Linked DNA regions of Homo sapiens: region 2 is linked to region 1. The links are contacts of gene promoters, found by promoter capture Hi-C in human tissues and cell types (Jung and others, 2019). All regions are on one chromosome and are shown on one strand. The core of a region is centred on a gene start or on the middle of the fragment in contact, and the rest is flanking DNA. Distances in the headings are between cores, read along the strand shown.

What was found. Contacts are between HindIII fragments. The study calls those that stand out against the background at their distance.
Region 2: a fragment that was not itself captured here is called in contact with the fragment with the promoter of ABCD2 in region 1 in 1 of the 25 tissues and cell types used here (hippocampus).

What each region holds. Positions count from the first base shown.
Region 1 is chr12:39,615,538-39,621,251 of GRCh38, forward strand. ABCD2 (ATP binding cassette subfamily D member 2) reads right to left here and starts at 4,266. Exons shown (of 10, transcript NM_005164.4): 1 at 3,140-4,266; 2 at 1,451-1,631. The coding sequence starts at 4,078. RefSeq lists enhancers at 3,668-3,747, 4,058-4,577. The HindIII fragment of the contact is 5,264 bases long and covers 578-5,714 here.
Region 2 is chr12:39,924,522-39,930,356 of GRCh38, forward strand. All of the region lies in intron 4 of SLC2A13 (solute carrier family 2 member 13), which reads right to left. Among named protein-coding and RNA genes, the nearest start is that of SLC2A13, 180 kb to the right of the region's middle. The HindIII fragment of the contact is 3,446 bases long and covers 400-3,845 here.

The DNA.
Region 1 (5,714 bases), core at 3,016-5,515:
AAACATAAAACCAGATAAAATTCAATTTTCTCAGTGGTCTACAAATAGTGTCTATTACACAGTTCATTTGTGAAGTATAATTGATATATGCATAACACTTGCCACAAAGAAAGGCTGACAAATACTAACTTACTGAAATGAACATATTTATGTTAAGAATAACTCAACTTTGACAAGTGTTTTTGTAAGGACTGGTTAAAACATTGAAGCACTGTTTCAAAACATTAAGGCATATTATAATTATTGTTTTTATTAGATCACTTCAAACAAATAACTATTCATCCTTAATTCTGTACAAAATAACTATAAAACAGTGCAGATTCTGTAACAATATTCTTAGTTTTCTAGGTAATAATTGTCACCTTTTATTTTCTAGGTAATAATTGTCACCATATATCAAGTATAACATGCTCTGTACTTCATAAACATTATTCAGTTAAATCCTCACAACAATTCTCTGAAGTAGCCTTTCTGGTTCTCATTTTACAAATGAGGAAACTAAGGTATAGAGAGTTTAATCAACTCTAATTAAACAGACTAAGAGGATACACGTAGGAAGAGGGGGAACCAAAAGTTGAACAAAACTCTGTTTCACTACAAAGCCTATGCTTCTGGCCAATTTTAGTCCAGTGATTTTTAAGGAGGGATGTCTTATTTTAGGAAAAGAGTAGAAAATACTTCTTCAGTTAATTCTTCTCTGTTCCAACCAATTAAGATCCAAGCTCCCATCCAAGGATGATACAACATTTTAACATTGTCTTTTCTTCCTTGCCCTTATCTTTCTTTGTTATTCCAAAGAATAAAAACTGTTATTAAAAACTGTTGAGACAGTGGTAGGATAGAATTAGCCAGCTGCAGCTTGACAACCACCATTCCTACAAAACCACCAAATCATGCTGCATAAGAGGTTATCTGTATTATTCACAAGCAGAGGAGCCCTTATTCCATGGCACTTAAGCATTCTCTGAAGCAATATTCCTGCTTGCCCATTGTAGTCAATGGACTTTTCAAATCGCAAAGCAGGGCAAATTCAGTTATAGAATATTTATAGACTAAATGTATGGGATGTATAGAACTAATGTTTATAACACATGAGGAATGCTTGTGTTATACTCTTTCTGAGGGTACTAACTTATTCTGAGGTTAAGTGTAAACTAAAGAATCATCCTATATTAGGCAATATAATTAAAATTGCTCAAGGTCAACTCCGAGAAACACTGCATCAGAGATCTCTGAAATAGCTCAGAACTGGGAACGTCTTTGAACCACTGTCTCCTTATTTCATACTGCTGGTCTTATCACTGGACGCTGTAAAGTCTGCCATTGTTTCGGACCATTGTTAACTAGAATATGACCATGTACACAGTTTAGCTCACATAAAACTAGCAATGACAACTTCAAAAGAAATAATGTTAAAAATATATTTGAGATTAAGCATAAATGTCATTACCACCATCTGCAAAGCCAGTTGCAGTGATAATAGGTATAGCCACCATAATTAGTCCACTGCTGCTCCAAACATACTTCATCAGGAACTGTTCTATCATGATGTACCACAAACGTTTGGATAAAATGAGGTTCATCTGATCTGCTAAAGCTTTGTAACTTTTCTGAAGTTGTTTCATTTCTACCTATAGAGAGGAAAAAGAGTTGAGGACTTTTTTTAAAGATATATACATATTATTCTTTTTTTTTTTTAGTATGGCATTATCTATGCATCTTAACCAATAAATGCAGATTAATACCAGTATTAGTTATTATTTAGTTTTGGTCACATGTGTATTATTTTTAAAAGTTTATGCTACTCAGTGGACATAATGTTAGGTATAAAATACATATAAGTAATTTATAGTTATGATATTTAAATTTTATGTATGAGATGTTAAAATTAAATGATATTATATGAGACATGAATAAACAATTATTAGAGCTTTGTCCTTGTTGATTACACCAAAAATATCTGAAAATGGACACATGACATATATATGTATAGACTCCACTTTTGAACTGACTCAATTTGTTGGATTTTGTCTTTTATGCAAGAAGTCTAAGCACACTATAATTTATATCATTGAATTCAATAGTTCAAGAAGAATCACAAATCAATATGATATAATACAATATATGAGGTCAATTTTCAAGTGGGAGTAGGATTCCTAAATTTACTTTAAATATTATTTTTCAGGTTGCTACTGCTATTAAAGACACTGATAATTACAGATGCTTTAAAAATTAAATAATTCTGCTTGGTGATTGACATGCCATCTTCAACAGTAGAATACTTTATTTTATTCACCAAGTCATTTAAATTAAGATTGCATTGCCTTCAAAATTTCTGTCATTTCATATTCTGAAGTTACCTTCATGCACTGTTAGTATGTATAATTGGGCTAATTGTTTTAGGGATCTGCTTAATGTTGAAAATCTTTAATAATTAAAAACATTCTGAAACTCCTTTTGTACTCCTCATTTCTTCTCTAATTTCAGCTTTTTTTTTTTTTCAAAGCTAGACAAAATTTCATTTCACTTCCTCTTTTCATTTTGTCAAAGTACAGTGCTGAACATGAACTAAGAGTAGTAGAAATGCCATTTTGTGAGACACTCTCCTACGCTTCTTGGGAATGGGGATGCTCCATATTGATCAGACATGCAAAATTGTTAAAAATGTCTTCTATAAGAAACCCTGGCTCTTCCCCCCTCTTGGACAACAAAGGAACAACAAAGAATATCATTCTAAATTTTCCATTTCAGTGGAAATATGTTTAGTCTTAGTTTCTAAATATATATTTTCTTCTGGTAGGTGCTTTAGGATGACCTACCAAGTTGGGATTTAAGTTTTAAGAAAATGCGTTAGAAATAATTCTGAGCATATTTGAGTAACTGAGGCTAAGTAGACTTTTTTAGAGTGTTGCAAATTTTATTCTTCTGAAACTTTAGAAAAGTTTGCACCCTATAATCCTTTAACTGGTTACAGTTAAAAGGGGTAATGAAGCATATATTTTAATTCAGGTTTAGATGTCAGAGGAATCTAAGACACTAAAGAAGTGGGTCCATCGACAGGACAACAGATGGTATCTGGCACTGCAGTGGCAACTTGAACAGTTTCACATTTCACCCATCACCTTAATTTCTATCTTACCTTATGTCCTCTGTAAAAGGCAATTTCTTCTACATTGGCTATAATTCTCGAGTGCACATACCGCAAATAGCCTTTTCTATGTGCTTCCTCTGCCACCAGTTTGCCAAATTTGGGAGAACAGGCTTTTAACACTTTAGCAGTGGCATACACCACAAGTCCTGCTAGTAGGGTGGGCCCAATTGGGCTTGCTCCTCTGGATGTAGCAGTTTGAATGAGTGTATAGGAGGTCAGCATTACATCTAAAATAGGTTTGGTCAGATTGGAATACAAGTGAGCCACAGATTGGGAGAACATCATAATATCCTCCGTAAGAGATTGGTCAGGGTTTGCCAGCCTCCCATCCATATTGATCACTTTATAATAAGTCTGATTTGTAAAATAGGTTTCATAGGCGTGGTCTACTAGGCGAGTTCTGAAGGCCAAAGCCAATTTGCATTCCAGGTACCTTATTGCACTGTTGACGAAGGTAGCAGGGATGGCAATCATAAGCCACTTGATTAATTTGATGATGAAAGTCCGAGGCTTCTTTTCCACAATGCTTTTCACGATTTTTCCATCCAGACCAGCCACATAGATAGAAAGAAAGGTTCTTGAGATTAGAGCCACTGAGTGCAGGCAGAGCCACCCTGTTTCAGTGGTCACAAGTTTTGGAAACAAAATTTTCCGAAGTTCTAGTAGCTGTTTGAAGAAATCTGCATTCACTCCAGGCGAAGGTTTTTCACAAATGGTCTCGGTGCAATGCAGTATTTCTGTGTTCTCTGCAGCAGGGTAAGCTGCTGCTTTTTTCTTCCCGTGGCCAGATTGCTTTAAACGCTTGCCAATGATGGGATAGAGGGTTTTCAGAGCATATGCCGCAGCCACCAGGCAGGCAGCCCTCTTAGCAGCACTCGATCTGGTCCATTTCACTCGATCAGCTGCTGCATTTAGCATATGTGTCATTTTCCCAGTTACCCAAACCGGCTTCCAAAAGAATTCGTTTTAAAAGATCATGCTTCACAGAAATCCCCAGCAAATGTTTTAGAAAGTCCTACAGCGTCCCATAGTCTGCAGCGTTTCTCTTCCACTGTTGTGTTTTTAATTTTGTTCTGCTGTGACAGATGCAGCAGAGCTCAGACTCCGCTGCATCTACCGGGAATGATTCTCTCAGAAGCTCAAGCTGCACCAAGCTCCTCCCTCCCAGGCCCCTCATTGGCTGTGAGGGCGGTGGGACCTTGGAATCCTCGCAGCTTCCCTTTGAACCTTGAAAATGAGGAGAGAGCAAAGCGAATTACATCCTTCCTTAAACAGGAGTTCAGAGAGTTAAAATGTCTATTTTTGGAGAGGTCGAATCAGGCCATCTGCTGGCGAACAAAACCGGCTCTAGCTACTGAGCATGCTCAGTGTCACTTAGAAACCCACAGAAGTTTCAGAATATACATCACTTCGGTAAGATTTCAGTAGATACCGCAAACAGAAGAGCAAGCAGAAAGGGAGATTTCCAAGCGAACAAAACCGGCCCTAGCTACTGAGCATGCTCAATGTCACTTAGAAACCCGCAGAAGTTTCAGAATATACATCACTTCGGTAAGATTTCAGCAGCTACCGCAAACAGAAGAGCAAGCAGAAAGGGAGATTTGCAAGAGTTTTAATGAGACGAGGAGGGAGAAGGAACCACGAAAATGAGGGAGGAGGGACAAGAGGATCAACATAAAATGAATATGAAAAGGATATGGAATGAATCTGAAACGGATCAGAAAAGAAAGTGACAAGTGGGAGGGACACCGGAGAATGCCAAATATCAAATACACTTGGATCTGTTTTTCACAGATCCCCCCGGCTTTTTTGGGGGTCTGATTTCACAAAAGGTCTCAGAACCTAATAGACAAGTTGTAATCGAGGGTTTCCCTTGTAAATAAATAGGATAAAAGTCTTCCGTGTTACAGAAAATAATTATTTGCTATGCCTCTAGCCATTCTCCCTTTTTCCTCTGCATCCTACTTGTCCTTATGCTAAAAATCTTCCAGCCCCATAACTGGAGATCTGATGTACTCATATTTATTTACAAGGTGACGACTATTAAATAAATGAGAGCAATGTTTCATGTTTACTACTCCCATGTGTTAGGTAGTTTTTACTTGGAGTGGGGTAGCACTTATAGTGAAAGTTTAACCATTTGGGAATTCAGCTGGTGTTGGATGGTGGAAATAGCTTCTCTAGGACCTTACTTCATTTTTCAAGAATGCTTTGTCTTTTGCAGGTTTCTGCTTTGTTTGTTTTGTTTAGCTGTAGAGATAATCTACTGGCTACTTCCTATTTCCATTTGGTTATTTGATAAAAACTAAGAGTCTTAAAATTCTTCACATCCATAATGGAGGATTTAAATTGTTCAACAGTCAAGGACAATTCTGCATATTTTTGAAAATGTAAAAAGCTTTTTTTTTTTTTTTTTTTTTTTTTTTTATGAGACAGAGTCTCTCTCTGTCACCCAGGCTGGAGTGCAGTGGCACGATCTCAGCTCACTGCAGCCTCCGCCTCCCAGGTTGGTGCCTCAGCAGCCCGAGTAGCTGGGATTACGAGGGTGCGCCTACCATACTTG
Region 2 (5,835 bases), core at 873-3,372, 310 kb after region 1:
GCTTATCTAAAATAGACTTCACCTTTTTCTGACACAACATAGATACTAAGTATCTACTATTTATCTACTATAAATAATTCTGCAATTATTAGGATCATTGTATCGTTAGTATAGAAGTATTTGCTTGAATCACTGTTTTCAATTATTCTTCATTTTTTTTCTTTCAATTTTTGAGGACAGTGATAAGACTAGCTTATTTAAAACAGAGGCAGTATTTGGTGAAAATACTAGAGAAAAAAGTTTGGCAATGTAAAATGCAATAGGCTTGACCTTTTGTGTTTTGCATGACAGAAAGCTAACTTGAGAAAAAGACCCCCCACCCCGCCAAAATAAAAGAAGTATGAAGAATAAGTTTCTTTGTCTATGTAATACATTGTAAAAAATCTGCCAAAGACTATCCGTTTAAAATTTTTCTTCAACATTTATTTATATCATCATACACATTAGGGAGCATGACATAAAACATACCAGATGAATAAATAGGTTAAGTGTCCTATACATACAGATAATTTTTTTTTTTTTTTTTTTTTTTGAGGAAGAGTCTCACTCTGCCACCCAGGCTAGAGTGCAAAGGCATGATCATGGATCGCTCACTCGATCTCCTGAGCTAAATCTATGCTCCCACCTCAGCTTCCTGAGTAGCTGGGACTATGGGGTACACCATCATGCCCGGCTAATTTTGTACTTTTTTTCTGTAGAGACGGGGTTTCACCATATCGTCAGGCTAGTCTCAAACTCCTAGGCTCAGGGATCCTCCTGCCTCTACCTCCCAAAGTGTTGGGATTACAGGTGTGAGCCATCAGGCCTGGCCTTATTATTCACATTTTTAATATCTACCTAAAACTAGTTAGAAAGTAGTAAGATGAACTAAATGTATTTTAATTAAATCTTTCAATTTCTGCCATTTATCTTTCACCACTAAAATCATTATTTACCAAAAAAGGTAGTCATAGTAACACTTCTCAATGACTTCAGTTATTCAGTTGTGCATATATAACAATAATATATTAACATCTTCCACCTGCATACTTTAAAAATATATCAAATAATTAACTTTTTTTCCTTTAAGTAAAGAAATACTTAAAAGCTAGGAAGCTATGGTTCAGAAACTATATTTTTTAATGGCTAAATCTTTTTCATGTCAATTATTTTAGTTTTTACTACTAAAAGAGCCACTACTAGTAATGCTAGCCCTCTACATCACTTCTCACCCATTTTGAGATCACTGCCACTTTATTTTCATTTGGTATTTTCCTCTATATCTGTCTATATACTGATGCTTTAAAAGAAAATAATTTTCAGCAAATCCAATTAATCATTCCCACTCAATATTTACCAGTCTTTCCCCAGTAATACAGAGCTTAATATAAAATAAACAATTTTCCTTCTTTGTCTAAGTTATCCAAATTAATTTTTTAAATAGCCTTAACCCAATTGTTAGGATATCCTATCTAGATCTTCATGAATATGACAGATAGTAAAATAAAAATGAAGCATATGTTCTCATTTGGGCACGAATTTGGTAAGCTTTTATATTTGGTTAAGTACTCATAACACTGAAGCAAAGATTATTGGAAATCTGTTGAAGAGAACCTTAAATCATGTTTAGAACATTAAAGCAAAGAGAATGAAAATGTCCCTCAAAGCACAATAATTATTCCTCAATTATAGAAAAATATAAATAAATAACCCTTTGTATTTAAATAATTATAATATCTTATAAAAGGGTGACTAATATTAAGACTTAGAAAGTGATAAATATCTCTTTAGTCCATTTTTAAGAACATCTTACATACAAATCTCAGGTTTACAGCCTCAGAAAGATCCAAGGCATGTTATCATATGTGCCTTCAAGAATGCTACCCAGACTTTTATTATAATTTTAAAAACTCAGACATATTTATATGGCTCTGACATTTACAAAATGCAAGCACAGATATCAATTGTAAATAAATGAGATATGTGACAGCGTATTGTAAGCTGCTCTTTAGTATGTGCTGTATCGCCCACTGGTATTTCAACTTCCAGGTCATCATCTCAATAGGTAATAAAATCATCTTTACTGTCTTACAAACCAAATACAGTTCTAACCTTTTTTATTTTTCTTTTTTCCAGGCAGGGTCTCAGTCTGTCACTCAGGCTGAAGTGCTGTGGCCCAATCATAGCTCAATGAAGCCCTGATCTCCCAGGCTCAAGAGATCCTCCTACCTCAGCCTCCTGAGTAGCTGAGATTACAGGCATGAGCCACCATGCTAGGCGAGCTTTTTAATTTTTGTAGAGACAGGGTCTCCCTTTGTTGCCCAGGCTGGTCTTGAACTCCTGGGCTCAAGGGATTCTCCTGCCTCGGCCTCCCAAAGTGTTGGGAAAACGGACGTGAGCCACCTGCATCCAGCTAGTTCTAACTTTAAATGTGAAAATTTTTAGAGGTTTCATTTATAGAGAAAAATATCCTGATGCTATCTGATTGAGAAAAGCTGGACAATTGATAAAGCAATCCATCAATGTATCATATAATTTATAGTACCTCCAGAACTAAAGCATTTAGTTTGATCATATATAAATGGAACAGTAATACACTTTGCACTAAGTATTTTAAACAGATAAGATTCTTGTCAGCCATATGTCTACAGTTCATGTATCATAATCAAATGGCCTGGTGCTTTTGAGTCCACACCCATTCCTTTTATGAAATGATCCACTACATTTTGTACATTTTATAGAACCTGGGAGAATCAACCTCTGCAAGTTTGCTTCTACCTTTGATTCCTGACACCAAAATACTTAAGGAATTTAAAATTTTCTAGGTATAGAATAGAGATCAAAAACTAAACTGAAAATTGGTGAGTCATATGAAGTTTCCTGGAAAGAATATAAACATATTAGTCAAAGCATACTCTTGAGTTTTTTTCCCCCAAATGTCATTTAAAATATAAAATACTAAATATGTAACAATACAAGTAGTTCAGGATTTCATAATCTATTACAATTAATAAAATGTTTAATACTCCAAATTGCGTGTTCATTATATGTGGTCTACATTAGGTTAGAATTTATCTTTTTTAAACAATAACATATCAAACGAGAAAAAATATTTTATTTGCTACTGTTACTGTCAAAACAGCTTTTCAAAACCAAGAAGTTTTTATGCAATGATATAGTAACTTGGCTAAATCTGGTTTATTTCATATTCAGAAATTTTTATTTTAAGAGGCATTTACAAAAGCTACAGGATATGCTTTAATTAATTTGACAAGTTTATTAAGCTTTACAATGTTCAAAATACTACGCCAGAGATACACAACATGATTGTTTTTATATCAACACTTATTGAGCTCCTGTGGAAGGAAAGCATTTAAGATAAATGGTACATGCCCATGAAGTACCCAAAACACAAATAATTAAATGAATTAACTTCAAATAAACTGGAACCCAAAACATTAAAGTATAAATTAAATTATCTATATAACTATAAGCTTGGTATGAAGTATTCATGTTGCAGGAAACGAATTACATTTCCGATATTAAAGTCCTGATATATATTTAAGAGTTGTTACTTACATTACTTCATCGAAATCTTTCCTATAGCAACATTATTTTGAAAAGGGAAAAATGTTTTACTTGAATAATATCTTGTACTTCAATAGTCAAAAAACGCTACACATCCCATACTCTTGAAAAAAACAAAACATCTTAACTTCAAACAGCACTAATATAAGTTATGCTTTGGCCCAATTGTTGCTTACTGGATTGGGTGAAAAAAATCTTAATCTTACTCATATTAGAGAATTCTATAAAGTAAATCCTGTTCCTTCTAATATGCAAATGTACTTACTCAATTTGAGAGCCTGCCAACCCTCCAATCAGGCTCTGATTGCACTTTTTGTGTGAGTGGTGGAATCAAGAGTGCTTCTTTTAGAACATGAGGAATAAAGAAAATAGAGCTAAAATGCTAGATGCTCTACTGCACAGAGTTAAAACATTAAAATCTTAAAAAATTAAGGATATTAAATGCGTAACTGGTTAAAAAATAAGCAACATTTTTATTTCAGAAAAGCATTTCAGTTACAAACTTGCCTGTTTCTTGTCTCAAGATTTTTAAATGGCTTATGAAAGATGTTCAGTTAAACCCAGCAGCTTTATTTCCTCACACTCTCCACTAAAATGACTATAAAGTAATTAAAGTTTGTATGCAAGGATAAAGAACATCAGACTGGAAGCTTTGGACAGTGGAAAGAGGATAGACAAGTGGTGACTGGCTTAACACAGCAGAACTAAAACCTAATCACAACAAAGTAAAGCCAGCAAGAAGCAGGATGATTTGTATGACAGACTCTGGAAAGTCTTAAGAATTGGAGGTACCAAATATCTCAGACAGTAGATTATAAAAAGGACTGGTTGACAATCCTTGTAACAATCAACAAGATGCCTCCCCCAACTCCACTGCCAAGATCCTTTGCCCTCCCCACACATGGGGAGGAGACAGAGGTGTCCTGTCCAGAGAAAATGAATGTCCAGGATTGCAGACAGGAGGATGGCAGACATGGTGAAGGCCAGCAGCAAGGAGTGGCAAGAAAATGAAAATTTATGGCATTAAAAATTCTGAGGGAGAAAAACAACCCAAGTCTGGGGACTGAATAAAGAGTTTCATGGTCTCAAAACTGTTTACTTCTCATTGAACTTTTCACAGGAAACTAGTACAGAGTAAGAATCATGATAAAGATGAAGTCAGCCTAAAAAGAAGACATGGGAGGCTGGGCGCAGTGGCTAACACCCATAATCCCAGCACTTTGGGAGGCTGAGGTGGGTGGATCACGACGTCAGGAGTTCGAGACTAGCCTGGCCAAGATGGTGAAACCCTGTCTCTACTAAAACTACAAAAATTAGCCAGGTGTGGTGGTGGGAACCTGTAATCCCAGCTACTCAGGAGGCTGAGGCAGGAGAATCGCTTGAACCCGGGAGGCAGAGGTTGCAGTGAGCCGAGATCGAGCCATTGCACTCCAGCCTGGGCGACAGAGTGAGAGTCCATCTCAAAAAAAAAAAGCAAAAGACATGTAATATAGGAAACAGAACTCAGCCACAAGAGAGAGGGGTAAAGAGCATTTCTACAGCTGTCCCTCAGGGGGCAACCAGATGGGAGAGGCAGGCAGGATACTGGAGGCTGCAGGAGAAAGTTCTGTAAGAAGAGCAGAATCACAGGATGGATTATGGGTGTTTCTCATTAGGTTTAACTGTAAAGGAAGAGGCTTTACAGCTCCACTGAAAAGTATGCAGAAAGAATTAGTGAGGGGTACACTGAACACTGAGCAAGTTAAAGAATGCGGCACTTGGGCTGGGTGTGGTGGCTCACGCCTGTAATCCCAGCACTTTGGGATGCTGAGGAGGACGGATCACCTGAGGTCAGGAGTTCGAGACCAGCCTGGCCAACAGGGTGAAACCCTGTCTCTACTAAAAATACAAAAATTAGCCAGGCATGGTGGTGCATGCCTGTAATCCCAGGTACTCAGGAGGCTGAGGCAGGAGAATCGCTTGAACCCGGGAGGCAGAGGTTGCAGTGTGTGGAGATTGCACAACTGCACTCCAGCCTGGGTGACAGAGTGAGACTTCGTCTCAAAAAAAAAAAAAAACCAAAAAACGAAAAAGAATGTGGCACCTACTTACTACTATAGGAGAGAGAGAAAAAAATCCTGGTATAACTGTATGAGCCATTTCAGCAGGCCAGGATCATGGGTTGTAGGCAGCAAGGTGGAGGAGGGGGAAGTGCTGCAGAGGAGCAAACAGAAGACTCACAGCACACATCAGAGTAAATTTAATCACAGTGCACAGAGCTGCTCAGTG